2 separate regions of the Homo sapiens genome follow, and region 1 is linked to region 2. Evidence: promoter capture Hi-C in 16 types of primary human blood cells and fetal thymus (Javierre and others, 2016). All regions are on one chromosome and are shown on one strand. The core of a region is centred on a gene start or on the middle of the fragment in contact, and the rest is flanking DNA. Distances in the headings are between cores, read along the strand shown. Region 1 overlaps ESF1 (ESF1 nucleolar pre-rRNA processing protein). Region 2 holds the start of ISM1 (isthmin 1).

The links. The method cuts DNA at HindIII sites, captures the fragments that hold promoters and counts their contacts. A CHiCAGO score of 5 or more calls a contact.
Region 1: a contact is called between a fragment that was not itself captured here and the fragment with the promoter of ISM1 in region 2, in 2 of 17 cell types (activated CD4 T cells and naive CD4 T cells). The highest score is 6.7, in activated CD4 T cells.

Annotation. Positions count from the first base shown.
Region 1 is chr20:13,751,795-13,758,568 of GRCh38, reverse strand. The region is part of intron 9 of ESF1 (ESF1 nucleolar pre-rRNA processing protein); the gene reads left to right. Among named protein-coding and RNA genes, the nearest start is that of ESF1, 30 kb to the left of the region's middle. The HindIII fragment of the contact is 2,329 bases long and covers 1,619-3,947 here.
Region 2 is chr20:13,218,209-13,224,749 of GRCh38, reverse strand. It overlaps ISM1 (isthmin 1), which reads right to left and starts at 3,476. Exons shown (of 6, transcript NM_080826.2): 1 at 2,836-3,476. The coding sequence starts at 2,973. It also overlaps a transcript of TASP1 not described here. RefSeq lists silencers at 3,045-3,114, 3,574-3,693. The HindIII fragment of the contact is 8,964 bases long and covers 1,147-6,541 here.

The DNA.
Region 1 (6,774 bases), core at 1,534-4,033, 530 kb before region 2:
TGTTTGCGTGGGTTTTTATTTGGGAAAAAAATAGGGTATTTTGATATTTGAGGATTGACTGGCTATTGTAGTAAATTTGCTAGGATGGACACTGGCTATTGTAGTAAATTTGCTAGGATGGTCTGCTGCATATTCCTACAGGAATGAAGTGCTGTGTTGCAACCCATTTGTTTTAAATGTTTGGCTTTTGCAGGAAGTGGTGGTAAGAACGAATGAAGTTTACTGGTGTATCATATGACAAGTGGTTGGGAGAACTCAATTGATTTGGCCTGGAGAGGAAAAGTCTAAAAAGTGATTTTAACAGCTATTTTTAAATACTTGCAGAATATGTAAATGAAGACTTAATCTCTTTTATTACCTCACAGGTTAGCAGTACTGCCAGTGGATAAAAGTTGAAGGAAGGTAGATTTTAACGTAATAATATAAAGAGGAATTCTCTATATTATTAGAATTGTCTCGCAGAAGAACTGAAGGCTGCTTTAAGGGGTTGAGCTCTCTGTGTCAGTAAATCTCCACCATAAGGCTACATAATTATGCTACTCAGAGATGTCTGTTAAGAAATATTTTACTTGAGTCCCTTGACTTTATGATTCTAAGAAATGTTGAATTCTGTCTTTTAAGTTGAATATATTGTAGTTTAATTCTAATCTTAGAATGAGCTTATTGAATATATTTTAATATGAACATTTTTAAATTGAAGTGTTCAGTTGTCTGAGAAAGCAGATCTAAAATAAACTGGATTGAGGTGTTTTATAGCAAATATTTCAGAAATATATAATGCCAGTTGTAAGGTACAGATATATGATACAGGTTCCCACACTAAGTGGACCACATCTAGATTGTGTCTTTATTAACATAATTATGAAACCGGGCACAGGGGCTCACACCTGTAATCCCAACACTTTCAGAGGCCAAGGTGGGTGGATTACTTGAGCCTCAGATGTTCGAGACCAGCCCGAGTAGCATGGCAAAACTGTTCCATCTCTACAAAAAAATACAAAAATTAGCTGGGCATGGTGGCACACGCCTGTAGTCCCAGCTACTGGGGAGGCTGAGGTGGTAGGATCACCTGAGCTCAAGGAGGTTGAGGCTGCAGTTAGCTGTGATCATGCCACTGCACTCCAGCCTAGGCAACAGAATGAGACCCTGTCTCAAACAAACAAACAAACAAAACATAGTAATGTAGGGCAAATACCTAAAAGTGGTATTTACACCTGTTATCTGTAACTGGAAGTTATAAGCATTGCTTATATTTCCTCAGATAAACCCCACCTTGGTCATGGTACCTTATCTTTTTATATATTCCCAGCTTAATTTAGTAATATTTTATTAAAAATATTTGTACTTGTGGCAAAGAGGAATATGATCTGTAGTTTTCATTCCTCGTATTGGTTTTTGGTATTAGGGTAATGTTGACCTTATGAAGTGAAAATGTAAAATGAAAGATTATCATCTGTAATTCCACTATCCTAATTCAACCACTGGTTAAGAAGATTACAGTTTAATTTACCATTTCTCTGTTGTTGAATATGCAATCAGATTTCTAATCTTTCACTACAGTGGACTTATAACATTGAAAAAAAAATAGGACAGATCTCAAACCCACAAATAACAAGCTTTTCTTAAATTTCTTCATTTTCATGAGCAGCCAAGTAATTGGCTTGCCTTTTTAGGGCCTTTTAATTTTAAAAACTTTTAAAACAGAGGTGTGTTTTTCATCTCTCCCAGCCTAGAAATGTTTCCAAGCATGTCAGGACTAGTAGAGAACAACCAGGCCACAATGAGAAGCTGATGCCTAGCATTCAGGCTTAACTCACTAGTTAGTTACGTGACTTCCTTGCTCACACAGCAACTCTACATGTGCTGTAGATCAACCTGTGGTTCTCTCACAAGCTGTTAAAACTACCAGTGTCAAAACCTCAAATGTTAAATCCCAGATGCCAAGTATCTGGGATGTTATAAATAACCTATAGCTTTTTCCATATTTTGAATTATTTTCATAGGATAGTTTCCCAGAAATAGAGTTACTAAGAAAGGGCATGAATACTTTTTGTGTCTTGAAGTTATTGCCAAATTGCTTTCTGGAAGTGTTGTACCAGCTTATAATACCTTCAACAATCAGTAAGAGTGTCAGTTTCACGGAATTATCGTCAACATTGGGTATATATTTTTTACTTTTAATTGAATAGGGGAAAATTGATATTTTAATGTATGAGTTTCAAAGGTCTTAAACTGTAATATTTTGAAGGCCCCTAATGAGGTATTGTTATCTGTGAATCCTTATGTACATGCACGCATGCACATGCAAGTGTAAAGGGTTTTTCTGTGTGCTATACATATAAGATCATTGAGCAATCTTTCTGTACCTCAGTTTATTCATATGGAAATTGGAACTAATAATACCACTTTCTTGCTTAGAGATACTTACAAACGTTATAAACTACAAAGTACTTTCATGACGTGTATTTCAGTGAATTTATGTCTTAAGAAATGTGTGTTTTCTGTAACAGTTACCCTGAACCTCAGGACTTTTTTGATGTTATGCTTCAGTAAACCACGGAGGGTCAGTATGAGATTATACCGTATCATTCATTGGTTCTGTGGCTTGACTCTCCAAAATATTAACCTCTTCAGGAAAATAAGTACTCTTAATCACTAACATTTATTGTGGTTTGGTTTGATTTTTCAGAAGAAATTCTAGTTTAGACTATTTAAACGTTCTACCTTTTTACATTGGGTTATACAGTATAGTAACATGAGGAGTTTAATTTCTTAAGGGTAAGTATTAAGGGAACTGATAACAGGTTTGTGGGCATAACAACTGGAATGAGCTACTCTTTCTATCAATATTTTAGTTCCTATGGAAATGTAATAATACAATTTTATTAATTAGGATTATAAATAAGTAAAAATGTTGAATTATAAAATTTTTAAAGAAAGTTATACTTAATTATTTTGATGTATGTGAAGTTGTATTTCCTATCTCAATGCGTTGCTAAAGGTATCCTGCCAACTTACTAAGGAGTAGATAAGGTGATGCATATAATTAGCCAGTTGGGCCTTCATCAAGAAATGTACCTCGTTGAGGAATTTCTAATACACGTATAAATGAAGTGTAATCAGTTTTAACTCTTTATATAACTTCCCCTGTATTAATAGTCCAGTTAATCTACATAATATTTTTTGTAGATAATGCAAGCTGAATATAAACAATATATATGAAATTCCATCCAGAAATAAATAATGGCATGTTTGTTTATAATCTTAAATTTTTGATTATGGTAAAAGTCCTGTTTTTCTTAGCTATCTCTGGCCTAATAGATATTAGTGAAATGGATAGCTGGTCTTTTTTCTACTCAGCACTCTACAGAACCCCAACTTCTCTTCCTTACTCCATCAAATACTTACTGAATACCTACTCTGTGCCGGGAATTATTCTATACACTGTGTGAACAAAACATAAAAATCCCTGAACTCACAGATCTTATACTCCGGTGAAGGAGAAACTAAACAGATGACAGATATATAAGAAACATATTTGACCAGGAACTAAAGAAAGTAGAGGTCAGGGAGTGAGCCTGGCCCAGGAAGACTGTGTGAGCAGAGGAAGTAGCATAGGAGTATCCTTGAAGCTATACTTTGTCTCTTGTGTTTGAGGAATCCAAGGAGAACAGTATGACTACAGTGGAGGACAGAAGTAACTGAGATCAGAGAGGTAGTTTGGGGCCAGACATGAAAGCCTTGTAGGCCATTATAAAGACATGAATTTCTGTGACTGAGATGAGAAACCACTGGAGAGTTTTGAGCTCAGGAGCAGTCAAATCTGACTTTTATATTTAACAGGATCATTCTTGCTGCTATAGATAAGTAGATTAAAGTGGGGGGCAAGGACCAAATTGGGGAGATCAATCAAATGGCTGTTGGAGTAATTTTCAGATAATGAAGCTTGTGGATGGAACATGTTTGCAAGGGAGCATCAAGAATTTTTTTTTTCATACATTAAGTTCAAGATGCCCATTGATACCTAAATAGACATGCCAAGGAATCAGTTGGTTATACAGTTAAGAGTACAGGGCTGGTAGAGATATAAATTAGAGAATCTTCATTGTATAAATCTCTGAAAGTGAATAAGAACAACAAGGTAGTGAATATAGGTAAAAAAGAAAGGTTCAAAAGCTGATCCTTGGAGCACTCTAACATCTAGAGGTAGAGGACATGAGCCTGGACCATTCCGAGCAGCTGGAGAGGCTATCAGAGAAGCAGGAGGAAATTCAGAATTGCGGGGTATTCAGCCTGCCAATAAAGAAGGCATTTCAGTGAGAATATGGGTCAATAAAATACAGGCTGAGAATGACCATTGGATTTAGCAGTGTGAAGCTCACTGGTGATATTGAATGGTTTTTGTGGGATGATGGGGGATGAAAGTAGTATGGTTTGAAGGAAGAATGGGAAGAGAAGAATTAGAGACAGTAAGTAGAGGCAACTCTTTTTCTAAAATATTTGATAGAAAGTTGCAAGCACCATGACACGTAAAAAAAAGCACTTCAAAATGTAACTTCCAAAAACTAAGACATGCTTCCATTATAAGCACGTTGCCACTTTCACACCAAGGGAATTGTTAGTCTCAGACTACTAGAGAGATTAACTTATGCCTAGTGGTCCATTATTGGAATGCTAAGCATGTGGAAGTTATTTATATCCTACTGCTCAAAGTTTGATTGCAAAAATTCAAAAAATTGCAACCTCAGGCATAAATGGGTTAAAATGAAAAGATTGCAGCTGGTGGTAGAAGAGTAGGATGCTTGGAAAGTAAGATTGTGGTGGGATTGCAACTTTGGGTAATCACATGACCTGTTTACAATCCTGGCAGTGAATTTCTGAGATGGGATAGAGTGTAGAACCATAGGAGAGGAGGTCAGTGAACTGTGAGGCCAAAGGTACGTTCAGAGGATCATCTGTGTGGATACTGAAGTCACCAAGAATTATGACAGGAGTATTGGAAAGAGTGGCAGTGAGCTAAAATTAAAATGAGAAGAGCATCTGTGGTCATTAGATATCTACATCAGGTTCTGGAAGAATTTGCTTACAAAAAAGATATCTACAATAAGGAAGAGTGTAGTCTATCTAGTATAGCCTGAAAATATGATATTCAGAGTGGAGGCACTGGGGAGGAGGGCCAGCCAGTGGATGGGAATTGGCAGTGAGTCGCAGGGACAGTGGGAGAGAAAAATTCACCTGCTAAAAGAGATAGAGGGGAAGCAGTGTCCTCAGAAGAGAGCTAAGTTTTAGTGAAACTCCACTTAGCAGATAAATGGGTAAGGGGGCTTTTGTTAATGACTAATAACTGACTAGTGAGTAGAACGGCTTTAGTCATTGAGGATGTTCGGCATTGTTTTGGGAGAAGGAATGATTTGGAAATTGTAAACTTCATGTGGTGGCAGATTTAAGTATGAATAAAGGGATTTTGAGATTAGTTTTGATCGTCTTAAAGCTTTCATAGTGGTAGGGATGTGAATGTCATTGGGATATCTTGGCAGGAGCACACAGAGTTCTAGAATACTTACTCTTGGGAAGGAGACATGGAAACCAGAAAACTAGAGGTGCCCCTTACTGTCTCACGCTGGCAAGGACTTCTCTTACTGTCTCACACAGCAAGAGGAGTCCCTTTTTGACTCCTATTCCTTGGGCATGGAGTAGGGGTGTAGCTCTTCCTTTGTTCTGCTTTTTCCTCCTCCACTCTTCACAGTTGTAATTTCATTTTTATTCTGGTATCTGTTCTTTATCCTTCGTCCTCCCCTGCCACATTTATTTTATCTCCATTTCTCTGTTCAGTTGTTCCACTGAGTAGCTTAAACAGAGACATCAGTGACATGCATATGTGGCCATTGTATTATTCATTCTTTTTATTTAGAAGTAAAAATGTTTTTGAATTAGTTGGGCATTCATTTTGTTAGGCAGCCCAGTTTCAAGCATTTTAATTTTTAGATGTCTCAAAACCTGTTCACTGTTTAGTTTTGGCTCCATTTTCATTTATTGCCAATGTGCTCATTATTTGAAATATATTCAGAAAAATTTTTTTTGGCCAGAACTTTTAAAATAACCAGATGTTTAAAATTTTGAATCGAGTATAGAAGAGGGCATTAAATGGAAAACCTGAACTTAAAAATAAGCTAAAAGAATTTGTAGTTTGCCTCAGATTTTGGTGGTGGGGAGGAAACCAGGTCACAGTGCACTCTTGTAACTTGTACGAAGTCACACAGCTGGTAAGTGGCTAAAATTTTAAAACCTAAGCGTGAGCTCCTTCCTTGAATCATCCAGTTAACAGGTTGACTATGAGGCGTTTGTAAGGTAATAAGCTATAACTTCATACTGTGCAAAAAGATTGGAGTCATGTTTGAAATGTGTAATAAAAATGAGAAGCACTTAAGAGTTATCTAAAAATGATGCTAATACATTTCCTCCATGTGATTGCTGGTAATTTTCTCAGTGCTTCTTGAATTATTTGATAGACTGTTTTCTCTCTTAATAATATTGATTTATTGTTATTTTTATTTTTATTTTATTTTATTTATTTATTTTGAGACATTCTTCTGTCGCCTGGGCTGGAGTGCAGTGGTGCTATCTTGGCTCACTGCAACCTCCGCCTCGTAGGTTCAAGTGGTTCTCCTGCCTCAGCCTCCTGAGTAGCTGGGACTACAGGCGTGGGCCACTACGCCCAGCTAATTTTTGTATTTTTTGTAGAGACAGGGTTTCACCATGTTGGCTGGCCGATCT
Region 2 (6,541 bases), core at 2,227-4,726:
CTACTACTTTATTGGGCGTCCTTGATATATCCTTAAATAAGAATGTGTCCCTTTTTAAGTGAATACAAACATACTACAATTCAGGTAAATAAACTCACCATTGCATATTTCTGACTAAGACAACCTTATATTTTAGAAGGTTGTACACAGAGATAAAAACAATAAAAATGATGTATATGGATTGATTAATTTTCTGATTGTGAAGAAGGATTTTAGTAGCTCAGGATAGCACAGAACCAACAAATTTAGATGATGTTTAAGACTTGGGTTTAAAATGTCTGGTAAAAAGAAAGAATACAGTGTCCACAGTTTTGTCTTCAAATACACCTGCTACTAGCAAATTCACTTTCTGGGGCCTGAAAACGATGGACTAATAAATGTCTTTTGCAGACCTCCTCATTTGGCAGAACATTCTTCTTTTGACTTATAATACCTTCAGAGAGTCAGAGGGCCAAAGAAATAACTTTGGTCAGGAAGAGTATAAAACTTTTATAATAACAAATTACAAAACAGCAAAATTATGAACTAAACTGCTAAACTCATCATTCTGCTTGGAAAAGTGTGTGCATTGAGTGGACAGTCTCACCGAACACTATTACAAGATAAGCTGAAGCTGGTGGATTAGCAGCTACTTGGGACTCAAGATATTTCTAGGAGCATAACTCTTTCTAAATCCCCCATTTGTTGTGTCCTCTTGGGGCAGTTCTTCAGCCAAAGCCCCTTTTGAGAATTCAGTCCACTTCCCTTTTAGAACTGCCACTTCCACCAGCTGCTTCTCTCATTACCTTACTGTTCAAGCGGAAAAGGCCAACCCCGGGTTATTCTAATGATAGCAAACACCTCATAAAGTAATCTGCCAAATTTACTTTTCCACAGAACATCATTTTTATGGCTTTTCATGAGTCCATGAGGAAAGAAAGCATCATGTATAAAATATAACTTCCAGAAATCTTGAAGATATTAAGAATTATCTCCGCAGTGTTAGATTGGTGGGTGCCCCAGTCTATAGGATGGTGGCATCTTCAACTTCCGCATAGAAATTCCCTCAGTCTGTCACTGTACTTATCTACCCACGGGAGAAGGTGAGAGAACCCACAAAGTTAGGACATTTTTAGAAATGTCTCAAAGTTAAAACAACTTTAAGCTTTGGGGTGTGTACTTTTCTACTGTTTTGTAATTGCGTGCAATAATCACCTTGCTTTAGTCTATCCTGGTAGAGACAAAATTTGGTGTAATCAAGAGTTTGGAATGTCTGAACTTTGACAAGTTTTTTAACCTCTCTGTACCTCAGTTTTTGCATCTGTAAATGAGGCTATATTAACAGTACCATGTCTTGTAAGATTATGGTTAAATTAAGTGAGTTAAATTCTGTAAAGTACTTAAAACGGTGGCACGTAGTAAACACAATGGAAGTGTTTTATTAGTTTTCTCTTTACGGTAAAGTTTTTCGCAATAAATTGTATAAAGATGTAAAAAGTGAATTATCAAAGACAATGAATATAAAGGCCTTTGGGAACAATGAATAATGCTTATTTCATTTTATTTATTTATTTATTTATTTTATTTTATTTTATTTTATTTTATTTTTTTTTTGAGACGGAGTCTCGCTCTGTCGCCCAGGCTGGAGTGCAGTGGCGCGATCTCAGCTCACTACAACCTCCCGGGTTCAAGCAATTCTCCTGCCTCAGCCTCCCGAGTAACTGGGACTACAGGCGTGCGCCACCACGCCCAGCTAATTTTTGTATTTTTAGTAGAGACGGGGTTTCACCATGTCGGCCAGGATAGTCTCCAACACCTGGCCTGAGGTGATCCACCCGCCTCTGCCTGCTAAAGTGCTGGGATCACAGGCGTGAGCCACCGCGCCTGGTTTGAGCAGATTTTAGGAGCCAGAGAATCCCCTCTGCCTCCTGGGAAAATCCCTGCTTGCTTTTGCCTATGCTCCAAGTTTACAGTTGTCCCACCCCTAGACTCAAGGAAAGGCGCTAACATAGCGGCAGGAAATGCCTAGCTGGGCAATTCTATTCCTAAGTCAGAACTCACATTATGTCTGACCGTCCACTACGCCCTCTCCTTGCCCTGAAGTTGAAATGGATAAACAGAATCCCATTGCTAAAGCGACCTTCAACGGGGAAGATCCTTGGGAGAAAGACTTTGCTACAAGTTTAAAAGCCCCAGGTAACCCTGGCCCAAATCACTACCGGTGCCTTCACTCTGCACCTTCCCCATGACCAAGGGGGCACAAGGGGGGAGGGGGGAACCTCAGGCGAGGCTCCCGGAGGAAGAGGAACACTGGAAGCAAGGGAACCCTGAGGGTGAGGAGGGGATGCCTGGCTATTCTCCTTGGGAAATTATGTCCTGACCTTTGGCATTGCTTCCTAAAGGGGTAGACTCCCGGAGTTCTTTCTCCCAAAGACTTCAGGGATATCATCCTATAAAGTCTCCTTGCGTCCCTCCAGCCTCGAGTAACATTACTCAGCCTCCGAAGGGCAACGAAAGACTGGTAGCACCCCCAAGCAAGCACATTCTCCACACTTCCTCTGCTCATCCCAAACCTCGCTCCTTCCCACCTCCCCACCAACCCCGCACCTGACCCGTGACAGACAGAACTGAAGGAGCGCAGCCCGCAGACCTGGAAGCCGGGTGCAGCCTCCAGGCACGTGCCCCCGCTCCGCCTCTGCCTAAGTCAAGTGGCCCGGGCAAAACTACTGCCAAAACAGTTGCTCTTAGGTGGGGCAGGGGACCTGCCTCCCTGCATCCACCCGGCACTAGCTCAGCACCCCCGCCCCACAAACCGTCCCCGCAGCCGCGCACGGCCCTCTCCGGCGGCGCACTCACCTGCAGCTGGGCTTGGCTGGCGTTGCCCGCGGCCGCGTCGGGCCCGTCGGCGGCTCCCGAGCCGCGCAGCACGGTGATGTGCAGCGTGAGCAGCAGCAGCCCCAGCAGCAGCAGCAGCTCGGCCGCCAGGCGCACCATCCTTTTGAGACGCGCGGCTTTAGGACCCGGCGCGGCGGCCGGCGGCGGCGGCGGTGACGCCGGGGGAGGAGGAGTAGGAGCCCGGGAGCCCGGCAGCGCGGCTCCCGCCTCGGCTCCCGCCAGGGCTCCGCTTCCCGGGCCCGCGGGGCTGGCGCTGGGCGCGGCGGGGTGTGCGGGGCCGGGGGAGCAGGAGCTGCCGGCGCCGCCGCCGCCGCCGCCGCCGCACCACGGCGGAGCCACCGCGAGGCCGGGGGTGTCCAAGCCGGCTGCGGAGCAAGCCCCGGCGCTGCCTGGCGGCGGCGGCGGCGGAGACGGAGACTGGGTCCCGGGACAGCCCGGGACCCGGGCCGGGCCGGAGGCCACCCTGCTGGCAGGGGGCTGCGGGGTCGGCGGCGGGGCGGGCGCAGCCGAGCCCCCGAGCGCACATGGGCGCCCCAGATGTGGCCGCGGCGCCGCAGCTGGAGCGGGAGCGGCCGCCAGAGAAGCGCGGGGAGGAGGAGGAGGAGAAGGAGAAGGAGGAGGAGGAGGAGGAGGAGGAGGAGGAGGAGGAGGAGGAGTAGGAGGGCTTCAGCTGCGGCCGGGAGTTACCTCCACGCTTGGCGCCCCCGCCCTCGCCGCCCCGAGCCACTCACCCGGCAAGCCACCTCCACTACTCTCCGCGCTCCTCGGGGCCGCCTGCCGCGCCGCCCCGCACTCGGAGTCCCGGGGAGGGCCGGTTCCAGATGGGGGCCCCGGGCACACCGAGGTTGTCACGGTTTGGCGGTAGCCGGGGCGCCCTCGGCGGCAGCGTCAGCCTGCCGGGCTGTACCAAGTGCCCGCTGCCGAGGTCGCTGTGACGGGCGCGGGTAGAGCCCTTGTGCACACTGAGGCTCGGGGCTGTGGGTGGGTGGGGTGGTGCCTGGGCTGCTTTAGAAACCTTTATTGGCAAACTGGAGCTGGAGTTGCAGTGATGGAAAACGGAGGGGGCGCCGGACAAGCCATGCGTCTGCCTGCGACCCCTGCCTGAAGCAGTCGGGGGAGAGGAGGAGTGCCAAAGTGTCGTTCCGAAGGGTCTTGACACTTGCTGGGCCGCCCGCTAGCCGGGCACGGCTGTTCGCGGATCCGCGGCGCCCCGTAGAGCCTGGGAAGGGAGGGGAGTCCGACTCTCTAGGCGTTCGTCTGGTCACGGGCGCAGGTGTTGGCTGGAAGCTGCAGAGACGCAGTGCCCGCGGCTCAGGCGCTCAGGAACTCGGAGTGAATCTCAGCTCTAGTGGGCTTGCCTCTGTGGGGGGCTCATCCCGGGGGTGCCGCGCCCAGAGGGGATTTGGGGGCTGGCGTCGCGCAGCTGTCGATCCCGGGCCACCGCCTCATGACCGCGCTGCAGCCTCGGGCTCCCGCGTGCGGCTCATGCCTTGCAGTGGGCGGTTGGCGAATGGAAGGGCTCTGGGATCCGGCTGAGGGCGCGGAGTCCGAGCGTCAGATGCTAGAGCGAACTGTGTCGGTCCGTGGCACCGCGCACTTCCCTCCTTGACCTTGCTCGGGCTCCCGCCTTACCGAAGTGACTCGGAGTAGCGGACGCTCAGTCCGGCCGGGACTTTTATACTGCGCTTCCCCTCCTCCTACCCGTTCCCTCCCTTCCTCCTCCCCAGCGCCGGCCCAGCCCTTCCCTCCCAGCGAGCCAAGACCTAGTCCACGCGTTCGCACACAGCCGCGTCGCACATTTCCAAGCCTTTCCCGCGTCCCGGACCCCAGTGCCTCCGGGATGGAGCCTCCGAATTCTCCCTTGGTGAATGAAATTAAATAAATAATCAACTCTTTCTTGACGGCACGCCTCCCTTTCCCCCTCCCCAATTTCCTACCTTCCTTCTCCGCGTCCTAGAAAGATTTAAGATTCTTAATTCAACTGCTTTCGAGTTCTCGCAAGGCATCTCAACCAAGTATTAACCAAATTAAGGCAAACCCTTGCGCCTTTGCGAAGGTTCCTCCGGTCACCGCGGTACTTTGCAGAATTTAAATAGCGGTAGTTAAGGTAGGGTCTGCTGGTTGGGCTTATTTGTGCCCGGGAGAGGAAGGGCTTGCTGCCTCCTTAAAGATGCCTGAAGCATCTTTAAAATTCTAACTAACTCCAGCATCTTATTAATAAATTGGCAGCTGTTTATAGAGTCTGCTATATTTTTTCCTTTTCATTATTTTTTTTTGGGTGGGGAACGGTGCGAGGGAGGAGGGGAGATGTTTGGAGGGGTGCTTGCTTTGGATTTTTAGGCAGCCGGGCCTGTCAGACATCTTATTTCTATCTCTAGGCTCTAAAATGCCAATAATTGTCACTGGAGTGCGGGTCGGGGGGAGTGGGGGGAAACGCGAAACAATAACCGTCCGTATTTCAGATGGGAGATCAAAGAGGGGATCCCAGCAGCTTTTAAATCCTGGAAGGATCCTCCTGTGTGTTTTCTAATTAGGATCACTTAAAAGGGAAAGGGCTGGAGAATCAGCGCCGAAATAGAATGTATAAATTAAGATGGCAAACTAGAATCCCACAGCCAAAGAGTTTTAAGGATTGTTCTAACCTCCAGTTGTGCCAGATTATGATACGGGCTCGCAGGAACAAATGACTTTCCTATTGCCAGAGGCAGGCTGGTCTGAATTAGGATCCAGGGGCCGCTGTGTCCTGCCCTTTCATCACACACAGTCTCCACATGTAAACCTCAGCTGCTTCTCCTCTCATCTAAAAGTAACAGTTTTGGACCCAAGGCAAAAATGACCTTTAAAAAACTCTGGAAAGAAACCTTTGCAATGAATGTAAATTCTTGTAAAATAATTTGTAAATGGAGATTTGGAGATCAAAGTCTTTGTAAAATGTTGTAAAAATTGTAAATTGAATTTTGGGGACAGATGTCTTTATAAAATGTTGAACAAATGTATGAATGAATCCTATTAAAATCCCTTCACGCTGAGAGATCCCCATTCCAGGTGAATTTATGTTCCAGTAAGCACATATAACGAGTATTGATAAACACCCACGCTCTGATTCCAGTTGCCGAACCAGGCTTGCCAGCAGGGCTCTGTTTTTGAGTTAGGGAACACGGGCTTACAATTTTTGTGGAAAAACAATTACAAATTTAATAGACTAAACCAATTAAGTTTCAAGCACATTTATGAAATTGTACCAATAGCTGATAAAAATGTTTAAAATCCTACCTCCTTCAGCAGAGCGTCCAGAGCACCCTATTCATATCGTTATTACTGATTTTATGACACTTGGGGCACTTGTGTCTGTTTGCATGTCTGTTTTCCCACTAGACCTTGATTGGGATCACCTTTGTGGTAGAACATTTCAGAGCATCGCCCCACTCCCCACCTCCATCCCAGTATCTAGTTTTCTTTCTGGGTTCATGGCTATGAGACATTTTCTAGGTATACTTGGATCTAGGTTTGGGCTGTGAAGAGCTTTTTTCCTTCCAGGTTGACCATAAAACATCCTGAGTGATTATCTGCACACACTCTCTCTTTCCTTTTTTTTTTCTTTTTCATTCATTCATTCTTTTTTTTTTTTTGACAGAGTCACTCTGTCACCCAGGCTGGAGTGTAGTGG